Linked DNA regions of Homo sapiens: region 1 is linked to region 2. Evidence: promoter capture Hi-C in 16 types of primary human blood cells and fetal thymus (Javierre and others, 2016). All regions are on one chromosome and are shown on one strand. The core of a region is centred on a gene start or on the middle of the fragment in contact, and the rest is flanking DNA. Distances in the headings are between cores, read along the strand shown.

Region 1 (3,277 bases), core at 619-3,118, 530 kb before region 2:
TGCCAGTTAGAATGGCAATCATTAAAAAGTCAGGAAATTACAGATGCTGAAGAGGATGTGGAGAAATAGGAACGCTTTTACCCTGTTGGTGGGAGTGTAAATTAGTTCAACCATTGTGGAAGACAGTGTGTTCATTCCTCAAGGATCTAGAACTAGAATTACCATTTGACCCAGCAATCCCATTACTGGGTATATACCCAAAAGATTATAAATCATGCTACTACAAAGACACATGCACATGTATGTTTATTGCGGCACTATTCACAATAGCAAAGACTTGGAACCAACCCAAATGTCCATCAATGATAGACTGGATTAAGAAAATGTGGCACATATACACCATGGAATACTAAGCAGCCATAAAAAAGGATGAGTTCATGTCCTTTGTAGGGACATGGATGAAGCTGGAAACCATCATTCTCAGCAAACTATCACGAGGACAGAAAACCAAACACCGCATGTTCTCACTCATAGGTGGGAATTGAAGAATGAGGTCACTTGGACACAGGGCGGGGAACGTTACACACTGGGGCCTGTTGTGGGGTGGGGACCTGGGGGAGGGATAGCATTAGGAGAAATACCTAATGTAAGTGATGTGTTGATGGGTGCAGCAAACCAACTTGGCACATGCATGCCTAGGTATCAAACCTGCCCGTTGTCCACATGTACCCTAGAACTTAAAGTATAATTAAAAAAAAAAGAAACTTCTAAATCATTTTCCAAAGTGGCTAAATCATTTTTCATTTCTAGGAGCAACGTGTAAAATTCTAATTGCGTAGCACCTATGTCAGCACTTGATATTTTCATCTTTGTTTCTTGCCAATCTAATAGATACATATTGGTATCTCATCATGGTTTTAATTTGCATTTACCCAACGACTAATGATGTTTAACATCTTTTAATGTGCTTATTTGACATTTTTTTTTTTTTTTTTTTTTTTTTTTGAGACGGAGTCTCGCTCTGTCGCCCAGGCTGGAGTGCAGTGGCGCGATCTCGGCTCACTGCAAGCTCCGCCTCCCGGGTTCACGCCATTCTCCTGCCTCAGCCTCCCGCGTAGCTGGGACTACAGGCGCCCGCCACCACGCCCGGCTAATTTTTTTGTGTTTTTTTAGTAGAGACGGGGTTTCACTGTGTTAGCCAGGATGGTCTCGATCTCCTGACCTCGTGATCCTCCCGCCTCGGCCTCCCAAAGTGCTGGGATTACAGGCATGAGCCACCGTGCCCGGCCTTATTTGACATTTTTATATCTCATTTGGTAAAGTGTTTAAATCTTTTGCCCATTTTTATATTCTTTTATTAAATTTTGAGAATTCCTATATTTTTGATTTAAGCTCTCTTTCAGATATGTGTTTTGGAAATATTTTTTTCCAGTCTGTGGATGGTTCTTTCATTTTCTTTACAGTGTCTGATGAACAAAAGTTTTAAATTTTGATAAAATTCAGTTTCAGCTTTTTCTTTTGTGTATCACGCTTTTTGTGTCGTGTCTTAGAAATCATTGCCTAACCCAAGGTCACGATTTTTTCCTGTATTTTCTTTTAGAAGTTTATAGATTGGTTTTTACATTGAAGTCTATGGTTGATATTAGGTGAATATTTATATACATATGGTATGAAGTATGAATCAAGATTCAGTCTTTTGTATATGGGTGTCCATTTGTTCCAGTATGATACTTTATTGCATTATCTTTGATATATTGTATTTTGATAAATAACATAAACCAGTAATCTGCATATATTGTCAAATGCTAGTTCATAAGCTTCTTTGGCTGGATTTGTTTTGTGTCACATGTGTAGCTAAGATAACAAACTATGCTTGAAGAGGATAATCGGTGCTTCTTAGGGCAGGTTGAATTTTCACATTTTTCTCCAATGTATCAGCACACATTCCACTTTATTTTGTGAGCTGACCCATTTAGAAGTCCTGACCTCCCTTAGAAAAAAAGCAAAACGTACTCTTTACTTTTGGGTTTGCTTAGTTTAAAGCTTTTCATAATTTTAAAACCAAAACTAGAATAAATTCCTAATTGATGGCTCTTTGGAATTTAGAATGCACTTTTGCATAGAAGTAATGTTTGTAAATGATGGTCATTCATAAAAGAAAAACTTCAGCATAATTAAATTTAAAGGAGTTTAATTGAGGAATGAGCAATTCGCAAATCAGGCAGCCTCCCGAGCCAGAGCAGGCTCTGAGACTCCAGCGCAGCTATGTAGGGGAAGAAGATTTATGGACAGAAAAGGGAAAGTGACATACAGAAAAGGGAAAGTGACGTACAGAAAATGGAAGTGAGGTACAGAAATAGCCAAATTGGTTACAGCTTGGCATTTGCCTTATTTGAACACCGTTGAAACAGTTGTCTACAGTTGATTGGCCAAAACTTGGTGATTGGCACAAATGTAGGCTACAGTTGGTTTACACTTCCACTTACTATAGTTCACAATGTACGGCAAAACCTTTAGGCCGAACTTAAAATATGTAAGGAGGTTTAGCTTTAGGCTAAGCTTGATTTAACATTACATACCCAGACTATCTTATAAATATTTGATTTATCTATCATGAAGAAGAAATACTATTTATAACAAGGATAAAACCAGCAAGTACATGGACCCCTGTGGAAGTTTTGATGAGAAATTACTGAAAAGATTTTAAGTATTATAGACACTGGTTCTTAAGTAGAACAAATTTAATCCCCAAGAATATGGCTTTCCTTTTTCTTGATACAGCAGCATGATTATTTTATGCATTACTCATGATGGTGTGGAGATGAGTGATAGTCATTAAATACTGATTATGTGCAATTAGATAAGGCTTTTCTTAAGTCATCTCATTCCTCTAAGAACTCTGTGAAGTAGCAAATTTATCTCCATTTTATGGATTTGAAAACTGACATTTAGAAAGGCCATACAATTTGCTCAACATCTCACAATTAATGCATTGGCTCTGGAATTAAAATTCAGTTCTGTCTGATTTCAGAGCTCACTATTCTCTGATGATTGGGTGAACATTTTGGCTAGTGAAATAAATGATGAAGGGAGAGAGATCCTCCTTCAAAGAGAGAGGATTGAGGAGAAAGGGAGTTAAAGGAGATGAGTGTATGTAAGTGAAAAAGGTTAAGGGAGAATTGAATGAACCCTGAGTGATGACTTAATAGAGGTAGATATATTCTGCCAAAAAGTCCTTGAAGAGGAATAAAAGAATAGGGTGTAGAAAAGGGAAGTCAAATAAAGGAGTTCTACCTTCTGACCACTAGGTGACACCATTGACAGAGAACACCTTGGC
Region 2 (3,413 bases), core at 696-3,195:
TGCCTGCCGCCCCACTCTCCACGCACATACTTGGTTTTCTTCTTAGGGGCATTGGCAGGTAGACTTTGAGGAAGAAAAGTAAAGGATCGAACAGCTCAGCCCTCCCTCCCGACCGTGGATGCCCGGAGTCGACCAACACCTCAGGTCCGGGTGCGGAGGCCGCGGGCGCCCCTGCGCGACCGTCCGCGCCCGGCAAGAGCCGCGCGGCTTTCGCCTTTGCTGGTCCCGCGCCACCGCTGGGGCGGGCTGCGAAAGGGTTGGGAAGAGCAAAGGGTTTTTTTGTTTTGTTTTGAGACGCAGAAGCCCTTTAAAAAGCCCGGCGAGGAGAGGTCCAGAAGTAGAGAAAGCAGACGGAGGCAAGCTGTGCCCGCGGGGCAAAGGGACAGTAGAAGGGGCGGGCGCCCGGGTTCCCCGGAAAACCCTCGGCCCCAAGGAATCTCCTGGGGCGGGAGAGCGCGGTTCTAAAACCGAGAGGATAGGAAGGGGAAGGGGGAGTTGTGTTTCAATTTCGGATTCACCAGGATTCATCTCTAGTCACATTTTTCTTCTCAAATTTTTAAATCGAAAAGATAAAAGCCAAAAGAACTTTCATCCCCAGAGCTTTTTATTGGGGGAAAGGAATGTAACTCGGGGTGGTTGTCCTTCACTTCCCTACTCGAATCTTCTCCTAATGCCGAAATGTGTTTACAGGTAGCCTCAGTTTACCAAGTATGTATCTTTTGGGGGTTTAACCTCTCACAAAGCCTTCAACTCACAAACCGCGATCCTTGGAAACCATCCTCCAAAGCAGTGCTTGGAGGCCTCTAAGGCCCCCGGACCAACTCCCGCTGGAAGAAGCCTGCAGGGACTCGGGAATCACGGGAACCTTTCCCGTCGGTTCCGGGCCTGGAGGGCCAGGAAGAGCCGCGCGTCCGCCTTTCGTCCCGCCAGGAACTCCCCATAGGACACGACACCGCAGGAACAAGCGTCCTGGGAGCCCCTGGGATCTTGGCTGTCGTCTCTAGGGACCCTACACCGTGAAATGATAGAGGCGAGGTTCCTTGGGTTCCGCAAGTCGACGAAAATAGCTCGTGGAGAAGGCGCGTCCTGCAACTGCAGTTCGCAAGCTCTCAGGGCGCCCCGCCAGCTGGGGGCCAGATTGGGTGACACTCCCCTCGACGCAGCCTCCGGAGCGGCGCGCACTCTCCAGAGGCCAGCAGGACTGCGCTCTCTACCGCAGAACCTGCTCCAGCTAGGTGTTCTCTCCCCATCTCGCCGTCGCTCTGCCCCCTCACTCTCTCTGGACCTCAGAGCCGGTTCTCTCCTTCCTCCTCCCGCGCTTTCCGTCCGGGGATCGCAACCTCCAGCCCGTGGGCAACGCGTTCAGCCCAAGACCCCACAGTTTTTCCCAACGACCCCCCTACCAAGGGCTTCTCTTGTTTCTGCTCTCCTGCCCCGCACTTCCCAAAGGTGAGAATCTCCCAGGGACTGCTGGACAGAGAAGGCCTGGGCAGGGGCAGTAGCCGATATTTAAAGGTCTTTCAGCGCCAGCATCCCCACCTCCAGCACCACTATTGGAAAATAATTAGGCCACCTTTTGCCTCGGTCACAGCCTGTGACCAGCTTCTTCCCCCCAAGGAGGCTCCTAGACCCCCTCTGCCTGTCTCCCCTCACCAGGTAGCCTTGCTCACCATAGGTCCCTGCAGTAGCGGGCTCGCCAGCAGCAGCTCCTGGGGACCTCTGAACGGTTGCAGTGAACCTGGGCGAGGGCCGGGGACTGTGGCGCTGCAGGCTCGAGATAGCTTGGACGGGAATCCCATCGGGGAGACAAGCTAGATACTCAGCCGGAGCAGCAGCGGCGTCTCAGGCTCGCGTCCCTCAGCTCGGATGCCACACTCACCTAGCTTCCGGGCCGGGCTCCGCGCTCCTTCCCTCCCTCCCTCCTCCTCTGCCTTCTCGCATCTTCCTTCCTCCTCTTTCCCTCCCTCGCTTTCTTTCTTTCCTTCCTCCTCCTCTTCCCCGGCGGCCCCTCCCTCCTTCCCTCCTCCCTCGCTCGCCTCCCTTTCTGGGGATGGGAGCCCCGCCCACATCCTCCCCTCCAGCCGCCCGACCTCGCCTAGCAGGCCCGGGTCCCGGAAGCCCAGGCAGCGCCCGAGTCCGCAGCTGCCGTCGGAGCTGGGACGCCGCTGCCTCCAGCTCTGGGAAGCGGCTGGGGCTCACCTGGGGACCACGTGCGGAGGTACTAGAAAGCATGCACCGACTAGTCGCCGTACCTTCCAAAAATACCCATGGGAGTCTGGGCTTCCCTGAGTTTAGTGTAACTGCTGCCCAAACTGATGATTAAAACACTGAGTAATCACCATTTACCCTGAGTAATTAGAGATAATGAAACACCTCTAAAATCAGGTTATGGAGAAAGGAGCTGTTGGATCGGTTTAAAAGGTGGCCTTCCATAAACTGTTAAAAGATTTCCAAACGTTGAGAAACAGGCTGTGTGCAGAACTGTGTGCCAGAGAGAGATACCTCTTGGGCTGTTAAAAGGTGAATTTCCTTCCAAAACATTCTTAAAGTGCGTTTTGTAGAACACCTTGGTGATGACCCTGAGGTAGACCCCAGTAAATGAGCTCACTTCCCTCCTCCCCCCAAGGCCTAAAGACAGAGGTGGCCTGCAGACAGGCTGGGGCCACGTTTTTTACAGTTAGAAAAATCTGTTTCTAGCTCAGAAGCCGTCTTAAGAACCGACACAGCAGTTATTTTTGTTGGTGTTATGGTTGTTGTTGATTTTTTTGTTCATTTTTGGTGTACCTAAGAGTCCTGACACTCTGTCTTTCCAAGGAGATAACCACAGAAGCAGTAACCTTTTAGGCCACAGGGAGACAAGAAAAGATGCCCCTTGGTCTGTTTTTAAAGGAAGAGGGGAGATGAGGAATTGGCCCTTTCATATAAAAACATTTTAGTAATCATATTAGCAGGGAGGTGGAATGTGGTGGCTTTTAAACCTTCCCAAACAGGAACTAATTTCACACACTGCCTCTGATGGAGCTGTGAGGGAGCTATCAGCCTCATCTCTCTGTTTTACAAACAAGGAAAGGCAGGACTACCAGGTTAAAGGGACTTGCCCAGATCTCTGAAGTAAATCACAGCCTCTGCTCCAGAGCTAATGCTTCAGGGAGGGGTTGAGGCTCATAGCCTGAGCTCCAGGTAGCCAGAGGAGTGCTGGAAGACTGAGCATTTCCTGTCCTGGATTTCTTTCCCTGGGACAGACATGACACTTTACTGTCTCTGCAAAGCATTTAGGTCTTTACTTAAACAGATATTGGCCCTGGGTGGCTCATCTATAAAAACTTTACGTTTATACACCTTCGATATTTAAAAAACAAGAACTACTTCCTGTGTGGAACACAGATTACAAAGGGTGGGAAATATCTGAGATC

The links. The method cuts DNA at HindIII sites, captures the fragments that hold promoters and counts their contacts. A CHiCAGO score of 5 or more calls a contact.
Region 1: a fragment that was not itself captured here is called in contact with the fragment with the promoter of BMP4 in region 2 in 1 of 17 cell types (endothelial precursors); the score reaches 6.1 in endothelial precursors.

Annotation. Positions count from the first base shown.
Region 1 is chr14:53,429,214-53,432,490 of GRCh38, forward strand. All of the region lies in intron 2 of LOC105370504 (a long non-coding RNA gene), which reads left to right. Among named protein-coding and RNA genes, the nearest start is that of DDHD1-DT, 280 kb to the left of the region's middle. The HindIII fragment of the contact is 226 bases long and covers 1,756-1,981 here.
Region 2 is chr14:53,954,880-53,958,292 of GRCh38, forward strand. BMP4 (bone morphogenetic protein 4) reads right to left here and starts at 1,946. Exons shown (of 4, transcript NM_001202.6): 1 at 1,671-1,946. LOC124903317 reads left to right here. Exons shown (of 2, transcript XM_047432035.1): 1 at 1-1,449. The coding sequence starts at 1,022. RefSeq lists promoters at 1-844, 1,772-3,413, 1,772-3,114 and silencers at 1,070-1,179, 1,829-1,908. The HindIII fragment of the contact is 12,206 bases long and covers 1-3,413 here.